2 separate regions of the Homo sapiens genome follow, and region 2 is linked to region 1. The links are contacts of gene promoters, found by promoter capture Hi-C in blood cells and fetal thymus (Javierre and others, 2016). All regions are on one chromosome and are shown on one strand. The core of a region is centred on a gene start or on the middle of the fragment in contact, and the rest is flanking DNA. Distances in the headings are between cores, read along the strand shown. Region 1 holds the start of ZNF20 (zinc finger protein 20). Region 2 holds the start of ELOF1 (elongation factor 1).

What was found. Contacts are between HindIII fragments. The CHiCAGO score rates a contact against its expected background, and 5 or more counts as called.
Region 2: the fragment with the promoter of ELOF1 here is called in contact with the fragment with the promoter of ZNF20 in region 1 in 2 of 17 cell types (total B cells and naive B cells); the score reaches 6.8 in total B cells.

Annotation. Positions count from the first base shown.
Region 1 is chr19:12,137,593-12,144,295 of GRCh38, forward strand. It overlaps ZNF20 (zinc finger protein 20), which reads right to left and starts at 2,758. Exons shown (of 4, transcript NM_021143.4): 1 at 2,588-2,758. The coding sequence starts at 2,590. ZNF625-ZNF20 (ZNF625-ZNF20 readthrough (NMD candidate)) reads right to left here. Exons shown (of 8, transcript NR_037802.1): 4 at 5,049-5,123; 5 at 2,588-2,733. It also overlaps the pseudogene RPL17P47. RefSeq lists silencers at 527-629, 2,335-2,544. The HindIII fragment of the contact is 6,979 bases long and covers 1-3,316 here.
Region 2 is chr19:11,557,769-11,564,895 of GRCh38, forward strand. It overlaps ELOF1 (elongation factor 1), which reads right to left and starts at 1,462. Exons shown (of 4, transcript NM_032377.4): 1 at 1,423-1,462. RefSeq lists an enhancer at 2,786-3,080. The HindIII fragment of the contact is 542 bases long and covers 1,202-1,743 here.

The DNA of each region.
Region 1 (6,703 bases), core at 1,508-4,007:
TGGGCATTGCCCTGGACCCCAAGAAAAACTCTGGCCCAAAAGTCCCTGTCTGTCTTTCTCCCCACCTGCTGGTTGAATGTGCATCCTGGATGTTCCCCCCACTCTGTGTTGCCCTGCAAGGTGTGCTGCCCTCATCTGTCTGGGATGTGATAATGCACTGTTATGTCATGGCTTTATGGCTTTGTTGAGATGACTCTGCTGTGGCTCACTTCACCTACACCTTTCCCTTAATAGCAACATCCAACTGGCTGACCAGCTATGTGTCTCCAAATAATGGAAGCTGGGACTGGGGGAGAAAAACTGAGCATCCCAAGGGGTTGGCTATCTAGATGAAGAGTGTACCAGGAGTCTCCTCCCATTTGGGAAATTCAGTTGCTCCTTTGGGAGATCCCACACCCTGCCTCAGGCTATCCTCTGGGAGGACTGACACAGGGGCTGATATTCAGTAGGCCAGGAGAGATGGGAGCTGTGGGCATTTTGGTTCAGCCCCAGGCGGTTCTGAAACCCAGGACCAGGAAAAGATAGATTGGGACTCCTGAAGACACATCACCCTGTAAAGTTTTCAAAAAGGAAACAGGCCAGGCACGGTGGCTCACGCCTGTAAAATTCCAGCACTTTGGGAGGCTGAGGCAGGCAGATCATTTGAGCTCAGGAGTTCGAGACCAGCCTGACCAACATGGTGAAACCCCATCTCTACTTAAAATACATGGGGTATGGTGGCGCATACCTGTAAACCCAGCTACTCGGGAGACTGAGGGCAGGAGAATCACCTGAACCTGGGAGGCGGAGGTTGCAGTGAGCCAAGACCACGCCACTTCAATTCAGCCTGGGTTACAAAGAGAGACTTTCTCTCAAAAAAAAAAAAAAAAAAGGAAACAACCCAAAGACATTCTGAGATGGTGTCTGTGCCTTACGAAGATAAGAGGAGAGGAACAGAGGTTTTTCACTGGAGTATCAAGTGGTTATTCTCTATTCTATGTGAAATGTTCAGAAACAGAACACAAATATTTTAAAAAAAGTTATCCATGACCTTGTGAAAAGATGATAAACCACTAAAATACTGCATCTATGTGAAAGAAAGGATGAAGAAATATACTCTACAATAAAGAAAGTTGATACAGGAGGCTGAGGCAGGAGAATCACTTGAACCCGGGAGGCAGAGGTTGCAATGAGCCAAGATCATGCCATTGCATTCCAGCCTGGGCAACAAGAGCGAAACTCCGTCTCAAAAAAAAAAGAAAGTTGATAATACTGTGAGTTGGAGAAGGGGAGTTAATGTTTGGAGATGCGGAAAAGTAATTGAAAATTTAAGATGTTACTGCAAACTGCTGAAGAGTTAGGGCGGGGTAGCAGGGTGGAGGATTTGAGACCCATACATTAGGAAAATGCAGGAGGAAGCCAGTCCCTATAGACAGTGTGAAAAAATTTAAAGCAGCAGCAATTAGACTGAAGTGTGTTTAGTGCTATAAGAAACTACCTAAGGACACCAAAATCAAACTCAAATTGAGGCAGGAAAATAGGGTCTGGACGCAGGGAACATAAGGCCTATTCAAACTTCAGCTATGAAAGGAAATACCTACTCCATAGGGCGTAAGCCAAGTAAATGATTTTATAACCTTACTTCATCCTCTCCTTTTACATAGAGTATACCCCAAGTAACCAATGGAATCCTCCAGGGGGTATTTAAACTCCCAAAAATTCTGTAACGGGGCCTTTGAGCCCCTGTGCTCAGCCCCGCTTGCACACTGTGGAGTGTTAAATCCCTTCATTCCTTCCTTGCTTTGTGCGTTTTGTCCAATTCTTTGTTCAAGACGCCAAGAACCTGGACCCCCTCCACCGTTAACAAAATGCAATTCTTCTTAAAACTTTCTGGTACCAAAACCACAAATCATGACTGGGCGTTTCTCACTCATGAATCGCTGTTTGCTCAAACTCTTTAAATTTTTTTTTTTTTTTGAGATGGAATCTCGCTCTGTCCCCTAGGTTGGAGTGCAGTGGCGTGATCTCGGCTCACTGCAACCTTCGTCTCCTGGGGTCATGCGATTCTCCTGCTTCAGCCTCCTGAGTAGCGGGGACTACAGGCGCATGCCACCATGCCCGGCTAATTTTTTGTATTTTTAGTAGAGACGGGGTTTCACTGTGTTAGCCTGGATGGTCTCGATCTCCTGACTTCGTGATCCGCAAGCCTCGGCCTCCCAAAGTGCTGGGATTACAAGCATGGTCCACCGCGCCCGGCCCAAACTCTTTAACAGAAAAAAAAATCCGCAGGATTCCCCCATGACCCTCCCGTGGTCCCCGCAAAATCTGAAGAGACGCGGGGCTGCAGGCGCGGAGCTGCCCAGAGAGGGCTCCAGGGTCGGGGCCCACAGTCGCCCGCGCAGGAACAGAACAGGAGGACGCCCGGGGTCCCGGCTGCCGGCCCAGCCGCACCCTGCGGCCGAGGGGACGCAGGGACGAGCTGAGACAGAGGGATTCGGGTCCCAGATCCAGGAGGCGCGGCGAGGAGGCCCAGATCCCACCACAGCCGCTTCCGGCCGGTTCCACCCAGCCCCTCCCCCGTCTGGGGACTCCGGCCCCATACACTCACCATTTCCCGGCTTCTGGGTGTCCCGGTGTCCTCTCTAGGGCTCCCGTGAATAGTGCGGGTCACGGTGCAGGCGGCAGAGCGACAGAAGTTGTGGCAGAGGGACCCGGGGCCTCTCGGAGTAGGAAATCTGGTATCCCGACAACAACCTGCATAGCAACAAAAGTAGAAGCTGGAATGGGCCTCCTCCTTCCGGACGGACCGTTGGCCGGGCTCCGCCCCGGCGCTTCTGATTGGACAAGGTACAAGGCCCCGCCCCCTCAGAACTGAGTGACGGCAGAAGCCCTGGGTAACGAGCCCTGCAAAGCCGGACTGATCGGTTCTAGCCACAGCTTCTCTCTAAGGGACAACTCCTTCCCTGAGCCCTGGTCATTGGATATTTTCTTTTCAGCCAAATTTGCTCCTGATTTTTACACAGGGCACTATCTTCTTCCTCATTCAATGGGCTGTCAGTGCTTCTTCGTCCTGCACAGGGTTGTAAGTGTGTGCAGGGAATTCCAGACTGAGTGTCCAATGGAGCGATGTGCTGACCTCAGAGCAGGAAGGGGAGCCCAGATCAGGCCAGGCACGACTGCACCAAGAAGGAGAGGCAGTTGTCCTTCAGGGGCCCGGAATTAGGGATGAGACATGGCCAAGGCTTTCACACATCTCACCCCACCTCACAGTGTGGAAACTCTCCCTCCTTCCAGACCTTCATCTTCATCGGCAGAAAACTCTCACTTGGTGATTTTAAGCTTCTGACCTAAATAAACTGTCAACTGCATAAGCCCCTTCTCCAGGAGAGGTCCCAAACAGTTATTTCCCTGAACTTGATCTTTACGGATTTTCTTCAGATATGCAAATTACAGTCTGACCCCAGGGACTCTATGCATGTCAAACCCAAAACACTGCTCCCGAAAACCGCCCCAGATTCCAGATGTACAGCCGCAGAAAGGACAGAACTCCTGAAGTGCACCTGCACGTGGGTCTCCTGCTTTCCAGGGCGCTGCAGCATGTCAGAACCCACACTCTTTCTGGATCTGCTCTGAGCAGCTGCAAGCCACCTGCAGGGGAGGGCGGCTGCCCAGGAAGCACCCAGAACTCCACTTCACTCCTTGGCAGGATCCATACTAGCCTCAGCGTCCCGTCCCTGGCGTCGGTCTCTGCTGCCCCCTGCAGGTTATTCACCTGCTTCTCACATCATTCATCAGTTTCCATGAGACAAACATCCTCAATCCCACTGCGAGAATAACACACGAGCAAAGCTCTCCTCCAGTGTGTATGTATAAAGTCGAGGAGGAAGTGTCCAAGATTATTTAACTGCATGAAAGTGAGGCAGTAGTGGCTGGGCGCTGTGGCTCAAGCCTGTAATCCCAGCACTTTGGGAGGGCGAGGTGGCTGGATCACCTGAGATCAGGAGTTGGAGACCAGCGTGACCAACATGGTGAAATCCCGTCTCTACTAAAAATACAAAAATTAGCCGGGTGTGGTAGAGCCCACCTGTAATCCCAGCTACTCGGGAGACTGAGGCAGAAGAATCGTTTGTATCAAAGAGGCTGAGGTTGCAGAGAGCCGAGATTGCACCACTGCACTACAGCCTGGGCAATAGAGCGAGACTCTGTCTCAAAACAAAACAAAAAAACACACAAATGTTTAGTCATGTTACTTATTTCTGGTTTCCAGCCTGACTTTATAACATTCCTGACTCTGGGACTCTCCAGCTCTCCAGAATTATGCTTTGAAGAAAAAACAAGATAGAGCACAGGGCCCACATGTCTCTTATAAACTGTGAACCAAAATATTACATAGCAGCCATCTGTCAGAACTGCTTCCAGGCTATTGTCCTCAGTCACAATCCTAAATCAAACTCACTTTCTTTAACAAATTTAATTTTTTTTCTTCAGTCCACATGAGTAATCTAAAAGAAACACATAGACAGAAGAATCTCTTTATTATCATCTTTCTACCAAGTCAACATCAAGCATTAAAAAAATGTAAAACAAAGTGAAAACCATCCTTCTCTGATTCATCGTAGACCCAGAATCTGCCAGTCACCAACACCTATCTTCATTTTCTCTATTACGGCCAACTTTTATCTAAGAGATATCATAGGGGCATATTTAATAGAGTTTGTCATTTTGTGTTTTATGAATTTTAGAGGTTTTTTTGTTTTGTTTTGTTTTGAACTTTTATTTGCATTTTCTTTTGGCTGAATTTGTTTGTCTCTTAAGTTTATGTTTCTTCTGGGGTATCTTTTTCTTCCGTGCATCCTCCTTTTCTGCTTTTGGAACAAGGTGTTTCTTTTCACTAAGCATCATCTGGATGTGGCAGGGGAGTTTGTGGATGGGTTCATCTGCCCATGAGTTCTGTAAGTCAGGTGGTACATTATGGGTGCCTTTTCCCTGGATGTGCTCAATAACCAGGGAATCTACATCTATACCCTTAAGTTCAGCATAACTCTGCACTTGTAAGCAAATTTCAGTACCTTTTCGGGGCCACTGATGGTGAGTCCAGCCCCAATGTCTGTCTTGCGTACAGCGACCAACTCCACTTTCTAAGACTGAAATGGTACACATAATTTCTGTAAAAGAAAATATTTCAGATACTTGGTGGCTTTTCATATAGGCATACCTGTGATGGCCTGAGCACCTTCACAGTTTACAGTGAACATGAGGGTTTCATCCTTCTAACATGCACGACTTCGTGGGATTTTCTGGGTCATAGTGAATAATGTTCATAGATCAACTCAGGCCACACAAGAGGACAGGTTTTCTTTGGTCTTTAAAAGGAACTGATTAAAGAAAAAAAAAAAAAAAAGGTGGAAGCCAGGCACAGCAGCTGGTACCTGTAGTGACAGCTACTTGGCAGGCTGAGGTAGAAGGATTGTGAGCCCAGGAATATGAAGCTCTCATGCACTAAGATCACACTTGTGAATATCACTGCACTCCAGCCGGGTCCAAACAGCAAGACCAACTCTCTAAAAAAAAATTACATAATAAAATAATTTAAAAAAAAGTTTGTGGTTAGAAAAAAGTTTTTATTTAAGACATTCATTAAAGAAAAAAGTACTTTGAGAAGAGATTAGGGCCAGGCGTGGTGCCTATAATCCCAGCACTTTGGGAGCCCAAGGTGGCAGATCATGAGGTCAAGAGATTGAGACCATCCTGGCCAACATGGTGAAACCCCATCTCTACTAAAAATACAAAAATTAGCTGGGCGTGGTGGCGCATGCCTGTAGTCCCAGCTACTCAGGAGGCTGAGGCAGGAGAATCTCTTGAACCTGGGAGGCGGAGGTTGCAGTGAGCCAAGATTGCACCACTGCACTCCAGCCTGGCCACAGAACAAGACTCTGTCTCAAAAAAAAAAAAAGATATTAGGCCTGGCGCAGTAGCTCACACCTGTAAGCCCAGCATTTTGGGAGGCTGAGGCAGGTGGGTCACTTGAGGTCAGGAGTTCAAGACCAGCTTGGCCAACATGGAGAAACCCGTCTCTACTAAAAATACAAAAATGGCCGGGCGCAGTGGCTAACGCCTGTAATCCCAGCACTTTGGGAGGCCAAGGCAGGTGGATCACCTGAGGTCAGAAGTTCGAGACCAGCCTGGTCAACATGGTGAAACCCTGTCTCTACTAAAAATACAAAAATTAGCTGGGTGTGGGGGCACACGCCTATAGTCCCAGCTACTCAGGAGGCTGAGAAAGGAGAATCGCTTGAACCTGGGAGTTGGAGGCTGCAGTGAGCCGACAGCACACCACTGCACTCCAACCTGGAGCAAGACTCTGTATCAAAAAAAAAAAAAAAAAAAATTTGAAGGCTGGAAAAAGATTAGAAGGCCGGGTGCAGTGGCTCACACCTGTAATCCCAGCACTTTGGGAGACACTGGTGTGGGTCACTTGAGGTCAGGAGTTTAAGACCAGTCTGACCAACATGGTGAAATCCTGTCTCTACTAAAAATATAAAAAATTAGCCTAGCGTGGTGGTGGGTGCCCGTAATCCCAGCTACCCGGGAAGCCAGGAGGTGGAAGTTGCACTGAGCCGAGCTCACACCAACACACTCCAGCCTGGGCAACAGAGTGAGACTCTGTCTCAAAAAAAAAAAAAAAAAAAAAAAAAAAAAAAAAAAAGAGTTTAGAGGCTGGGCA
Region 2 (7,127 bases), core at 212-2,711, 580 kb before region 1:
TGTAATCCCAGCTACTCGGGAGGCTGAGGCAGGAGAATCACTTGAACCTGGGAGGCGGAGGTTGCAGTGAGCCGAGGCACTCCAGCCTGGGCAACAGAGCAAAAAGCCCATGAGTTTAATTGTTGGATCCTCTCCTTTCTGGCTATACTCACCACATGAAGATTTCACCCAGTCTTAGGGCTTCATGCCTACTCTACACTGAGGCCACCTGCTTCTCCAGCCTTGAGTCTGAACTGCAGACTCTGATCTATCTGCCTCAGCCACACCTCCACCTGATGTCTAACTTCCACCTAAGATTAAACATATCATGTCCAAAACCAAGCCCCTGACATTGCAACCTGCTCTTCCAGTCTTCCTCATCTCAGCTAACAGCAATTCCATCTTTCCGGATAATCAAATCAGAAACCTTGGATTCATCCTCAATGTCTTTTTCCCTCACACATTCCTTATGCGATCCTCCCCCTGCCCCTCTACCTCTGAAATATAAATTAGCCGCGGCACCACGCCCAGCTAATTTTTGTATTTTTTGTAGAGACAGGGACCCACCATGTTGCCCAGCCTGGTCTGGAACTCCTGGGCTCAAGAGATACTCCCGCCTCGGCCTCCCAAAGTGCTGGCGTTACAAGCATGAGCCACCGTGCCCAGCAATAACCATTACTGAATAAATCACTCAATCAGTTTGCTTGTAACTCTATCACTTTGGGACGTCACGCCCGTAATCTCATCACTTTGGGAGGCCCAGGTGGGAAGATCGCTTGAAGCCAGGAGTTCCAGACCAGCCTGGGAAACAGAGTGAGACCCTTCATCTCTACAAAATTACAAAAATTAGCCTTGAGTCTGTAGTCCCAGCTACTCGGCAAGCTGAAGTGGGAAGCTTGCGCCCAGGAGGTCGAGGCTGCAATGAGCTATGATCGCGCCACTGCACTCCAGCCTCGGCGACACAGCAAGACTCACTCTCAAAAAAAAAAAAAAAAGTCCAAACAAAATCTACGGATGAGCCCCAGAAGCTCATTTTGCCCAGGGACTACAGTCTCCCCATCCCATGAATGGGGTCTGGCTTGCACAAGGAATGCAGAGGCCTCAGCCTGTCCTGTGACAACGTTAAGTCCAAGAGCGCCAAAAGGGGATGGCAGAGGAGTCATCCCCCGAATCTGCTGGTACCCAAGAGGTGGGGGGTTGGCTGTTCCTCCAGACTCACTAAAGCTTCGGCATCGCCTCCCGACGGCCGCCGGGAGGAGCCAGGCGTCCCGGTAGTCGCGCTTGGAAGGATGGGGTCGGGGGGAGTCAGTCTCCCCGACCGGCTTTCCCCCAAGCTCGAGGTCCCAGGAGCCTCCTCCAGGACCCCGTAAACGCACGGAGTAGAGGAACTTCCAGTCCTGCCCACCCCCAACGCCCACTCGCACGAGCCGCACCAGCACTCACCTTCTCCAGCTGCGAAAGCTCCGTTCACCCGGGAGATAGTGACTTCCGACTCCTGCCGGAAGCGGAAACCCCTCTCCTACTTTCAGGTCCCGGCCACCCCCATCCCGGACAGCCCAGCAAATAGGCCCTGCCTCCTTCGCCGCTCCTCTGAGCGCACGCGTACTCAAATAGCAGCGCTCCGACGGAGACGCAGTGCGCCTGCGCAAGAGCCGGTGCGTATTTGCCTGTACCTACGCGCGATGCCAGTACTTCTGGTCAGTTTCCAGGAGCGGCAAGTGAGGAATATGAAATAACCTTATGGCTGAATCAGGGTGAAGGGGAAGCTTGTAAGCATGGAAGACGCTCTACTCAAACTAAAAAGTTCAAGTTCTGATCCAGCAGATGAAGAGGGAGGCCTGAGAGGCTGCTGTTCTAACTCGCTCCCAGGTGACTTCCATGCTGCTGATCCGCAGACCACATTTTGAGTGCCCAGATTGTAGTAGATGAGGTTGAGTGGACAGGCTGGGGCCAGATTCCATGGAGCCTCGTGGGCCGTGTTAAGGATTTTTATTTTTTATTTTTGTTTTATTTTATTTTATTTTTTTGAGACGGAGTCTCACTTTGTCGCCCAGGCTGGAGTGCAGTGGCTCGATTTCGGCCCACTGCAACCTCCGCCTCCCAGGTTCAAGTGATTCTCCTACCTCAGCCTCCCGAGTAGCTGGGATTACAGGCGCCGGTCACCGCGCCCGGCTAATTTTTGTAGTTTTTTTTTTTTTTTTTTTTTTGAGTAGGGATGGGGTCTCACCATCTTGGCCAGGCTGGTCTTGAACTCCTGACCTCGTGATCCACCCGCCTCGGCCTCCCAAAGTGCTGGGATTACAGGCGCGATCCACCCGCCTCGGTCTCCCAAAGTGCTGGGATTACAGGCGTGAGCCACCGCGCCCGGCCAAGGACTTTTATTGGTTTTTATTTTTGGTTTTGTTTTTTTCTGAGACAGGGTTTCGCTCCGTCGCCCAGGCTGGAGTGCAGTGACGCCATATGGGCTCACTGCAACCTTAGCCTCCCGGGTTCAAGCGATCCTCCTGCCTCAGCCTCTTAAGTAGCTGTGATTACAGGTGCGCACTACCATGCCTGGCTAATTTTTGTATTTTTAGTAGAGATGGGGTTTCACCATGTTGGTCAGGCTGGTCTCGAACTCCTGACCTCAAGTGATCCATCCACCTCGGCCTCTCAAATTGTTGGGATTACAGGCATGAGCCACCACACCTGGCCTGAAAAAGATATTTCAAGATGGAGAGAGAGAGGGGTTAGCTGTGTCACGTGTCCCTGAGTTGAAGAAGATGAGGAAAGAGAATTGACAGTTGAGTTTGGCAAGGGTCTGGTCCCTGCGGACCTTGATAAGAGCTGTTGCATTAGAGTGTTCAGGAAGATAATTTGTAATGAAATGTATTTCGAATACAGATGCTCTTTGATTTACGATGGGGTTACATCCCGATAAACCTATCATAATCAAGTCAGGGGCTGTCTGTAGAGGGATCTCTAGGATATCCCCTAGGGGGCAGTGTTACCCTGGTAACCGTCAAGTGTAACCAGTAGAACTGCCCTCTTGTGAGACCCTTTTTCAGTGCTGGAGCAAACTAGAATACACACAGGATGGAATCATACTATACAGTTACCGTGCAACTTGCTATTTCCACTTAACCATCTATACACGTATACCTAACTTTTGTTTTTAGTAGCTACATGATTCATAGTGCAACTCTGCCATAGTATAATCAACGGTTATCCTACTGATGGACAATTCCTGGACTTTCCTGAGTTTTGCCACTGTGATGATGCAGTAAATGTCCCTGAATCAGTATCCTTAAGACTGGATCTTTAGTGAAGCATAGTTTTCAAAAAATGACATTTGTGAGTACAGTGTCTCACCCCAGTAACCCCAGCACTTTGGGAGGCCGAGGTGGGAGGACTGCTTGAGCCCAGGAGTTTGAGGCTAGCATGGGCAACATAGTGAAATCCTGTCTCTAAAAATAAAATAAAATAAAATAAAAAACAATAAATGATGGCCGGGTATGGTGGCTCACACCTGTAATCCCAGCACTTTTTTGTTTTTGCTTTTTTTTTTTTTTTTTTGAGACAGAGTCTTGCTCTGTGGCCCAGGCTGGAGTGCAGTGGCGTGATCTCGGCTCACTATAACCTCCACCTCCTGGATTCAAGCAATTCTCCTGCCTCAGCCTCCTGAGTACCTAGGATTACAGGTGTGCGCCAACATGCCTGGCTAATTTTTGTATTTTTAGTAAAGATGGGGTTTCACCATGTTGGCCAGGCTGGTCTTGAACTCCTGACCTCGTGATCTGCCTGCCTTGGCCTCCCAAAGTGCTGGGATTACAGGCGTGAGCCACGGCGCCTGGCCCATCCCAGCACTTTGGGAGGCCAAGACGGGTGGATAACCTGAGGTCAGGAGTTCAAGACTAGCCTGACCAACATGGTAAAACCTTGTCTCTACTAAAAATACAAAAATTAGCTGGGCATGGTGGCAGGCACCTGTAATCCCAGCTACTCAGGAGGCTGAGGCAGGAGAATCACTTGAACCCCGGGAGGCAGAGGTTGCAGTGAGCCGAGATCGCGCCACTGCACTCCAGCCTGGGCAACAAGAGTGAAACTCCATCTCAAAAAAAAAAAAAAAACAAAGACATTGAGTCACAGGATGTATATATCTTTCATTTTGTTCATGATTGCCACATTAGTTTTCTCTTTTTCTCTCCTTTCATCCCTTCCCTCTCTTACTTCCCTCCTTCCCAGCTTTGTTGGATGTAATTGACTGAACATGAACTGCTCATATTTAAACCATGCCTGGCCGAAATTGCATGTTTTGACATACAGGTATATCATTAAAACATGACCATAATCAAGACAATTATTTCCATCACCCTAAGAAATTTCCTCTTACCAGTAGCCGAGTGTGATGGCTCATGCCTGTAATCCTAGCACCTTGGGAGGCCGAGGTGTGCGAATCACGTGAAGACAGGAGTTTGAGACCAGCCTGGGCAACACGGTGAGACCCCTTGTAGTCTCCACTACAAATACAAAAATTAGCCAGACATAGTGGCACACGCCTGAAGTCCCAGCTACTAGCGAGGCTGAGGCTGGAGAATCACTTGAACCCGGGAGGCGGAGGCTGCAGTGAGCCAAGATTGTGCCACTGCACTCCAGCCTGGGTGACAGATCAAGACTCAGTCTTAAAAAAAAAAAAATAAGAAAAAAAAGAAATTTTTCTCTTGCCCTTTTGTGCTCTGTCCCCTACTCCAGCCCCTGGCCCTAACTGATTTGTTTTTGGTTCCTGTAACTTTGTCTTTTTCAGAAAGTCATATAAGCTGAATCATACAACGTGTAGCCTTTTGAGCTGGGCTTCTTTCCCCAGCATAAGATGTTTGAAACTCACTCATGTTCCCAGCATTTTGGGAGGCCAAGGCGGGTGGATTGCTTGAGGTCAGAAGTTCAAGACCAGCCTGGCCAACATGGTGAAACCCCATTTCTACTAAAAATACAAAAATTAGCTGGATGTGTTGGTGTGCGCCTGTAATCCCAGCTACTTGGGAGGCCAAGCCAGGAGAATCACTTGAAACCAGGAGGCGGAGGTTGCAGTGAGCCGAGATCACGCTATTGCACTCCAGCCTGGGCAACAGAGCCAGACTCTGTCTCAAAAAAAAAAAAAAAGAAAAAAAGGAACTCACTCGTGTTGTTGGATATGTCAGCAGTTTGTTTCTTTTTTGTTTTCTTTTGAGATGGGGTCTCACTCTGTCACCCAGACTGGAGTGCAGTGGCACCATCATGGTTCACTGTAGCCTCAACTTCCCAGGCTCCAGCAGTCCTCCCACCTCAGCTTCCCGAGTAGCGGGGATTACACCTGTGCACCACCACGCCCAGTTAATTTTTGTGTTTTTTGTAAAGACAAGGTTTTGCCATGTTGCCCAGGCTGGTCTCGAACTCCTGGACTCAAGCAATCCACCTGCCTTGGCCTTTCAAAGTGCTTGGATTATAGGCATGATTATTATTCAGTTGTATTCTGTTATATGAATGTCCCACACTTTGTTTATCTTTTCACCTGTTAGTGACCTGTTTTTTGCATTGTTGCCGGTTGTTGAACAATTATTAGAGCTGTTATGAACCATTTCTTTCATTTTGAGGGTGGCAGATGACACCACTCCAAAATATGCCACTTTGGCATATGGATTGTTTCAGCTAAGTGCACTTGAAAAACAGTAGGTGCAGGAAAAGCACTCTGACCTCCCTCTTTTCTCTGGAAAACGAGATAAACCCCCATATGGAAGATGCCCTCCCCATCCCAGGAAGAAAGTAAAATTCTTTTTAGACAGGGTCTCATCCTGTTGCCCAGGCTGGAGCGAAGTGGTGTGATATCCACTTCCTGCAACCTCACTGCAACCTCCACCTCCTAGTCTTAAGCGATCCTCTCGCCTTGTCCCCAAAATAGCTGGGATCACAGGCGCCCACCACCATGCCCAGCTAATTTTTTTGTATTTTTGGTAGACACAGGGTTTCACTAAGTTGCCTAGGCTGGTGTCCAGCTCCTGAGCTCAAGTGATCCACCCGCTTCTGCCTCCCAAAGTGCTGGGATTACAGGCCTGAGCCACCGCGCCCAGCCCTAGAGCGTACAATTCTTATCACCAGAAGACAGGGAGTCAAAGCTGAGGAAAAAATGTACAAACAAACCTTGTTAAATGAACCCTTATTTTTCTAGTTATTTTTCCACCATTAACTGCTCTAGCCCAAACCCCTTTGTCTTGTCACATTTTCATAATTTACTACCCTTTTAAAACTTTATTTATAATATTTATTTATAATTTTAAAATTTATTTATATATTTATTTAGAGACGGGGCCTTACTCTGCTGCCTAGGCTGGAGTACAGTGGCACAATCATAGCTGATTGCAGCCTCAAACTCCTGGGCTCAAGCGAAACTCCCACGTCAGCCTCCTGAGTACCTGGGACTACAGGTGCGTGCCACCCAGCTAATTTTATTTTCTGTTGTTTTAGAGATGGGGTCTCCCTGTGTTGTCCAGGCTGTTCTTGAACTCCTGGGTCCAAGCAATCCTCCCACCTTGGCCTCCCAAAGTGTTGGGATTACTAGTATGAGCCACCACGCCCATCTATAATTTACTACTTTTTTTTTTTTTTTTTTTGAGAAGTCTGGCTCTGTTGCCCAGGCTAGAGTCCAGTGGTGCGACCTCAGCTCACTGCAACCTTTGCCTCCTAGGTTCAAGTGATTCTTCTGCCTCAGCCTCCCAAGTAGCTGGAATTACAGGTATGTGCCACCATGCCTGGCTAATTTTTGTATTTTTAGTAGAGGTGGGGTTTCTCCATGTTGATTAGGCTGGTCTCAAACTCCCAACCTCAGGTGATCCGCCCACCTTGGCCTCCCAAAAGTGTTGGGATTACAGGCATGAGCCACCATGTCCATCCATAATTTTCTACTGTTTGTCTAATACAGTAAATAAGTGTTTGACTGTAACTGCTTCTTTGGGTCTTCCTTTTCAGGGCTCCCATGTCCCATAGAACTTATGTTAAATATATTTCTATGCTTTTCTCCTATTAATTGATCAAATGTCAGTTTAAGTCTTAGGCCCCGCCAGAGATCTAAGAGGGTAGAGGAGAAATCTTGCCTTCCCTCCACAGGTCTTTGTGTGGATGTTCATTTGCATCTTTCC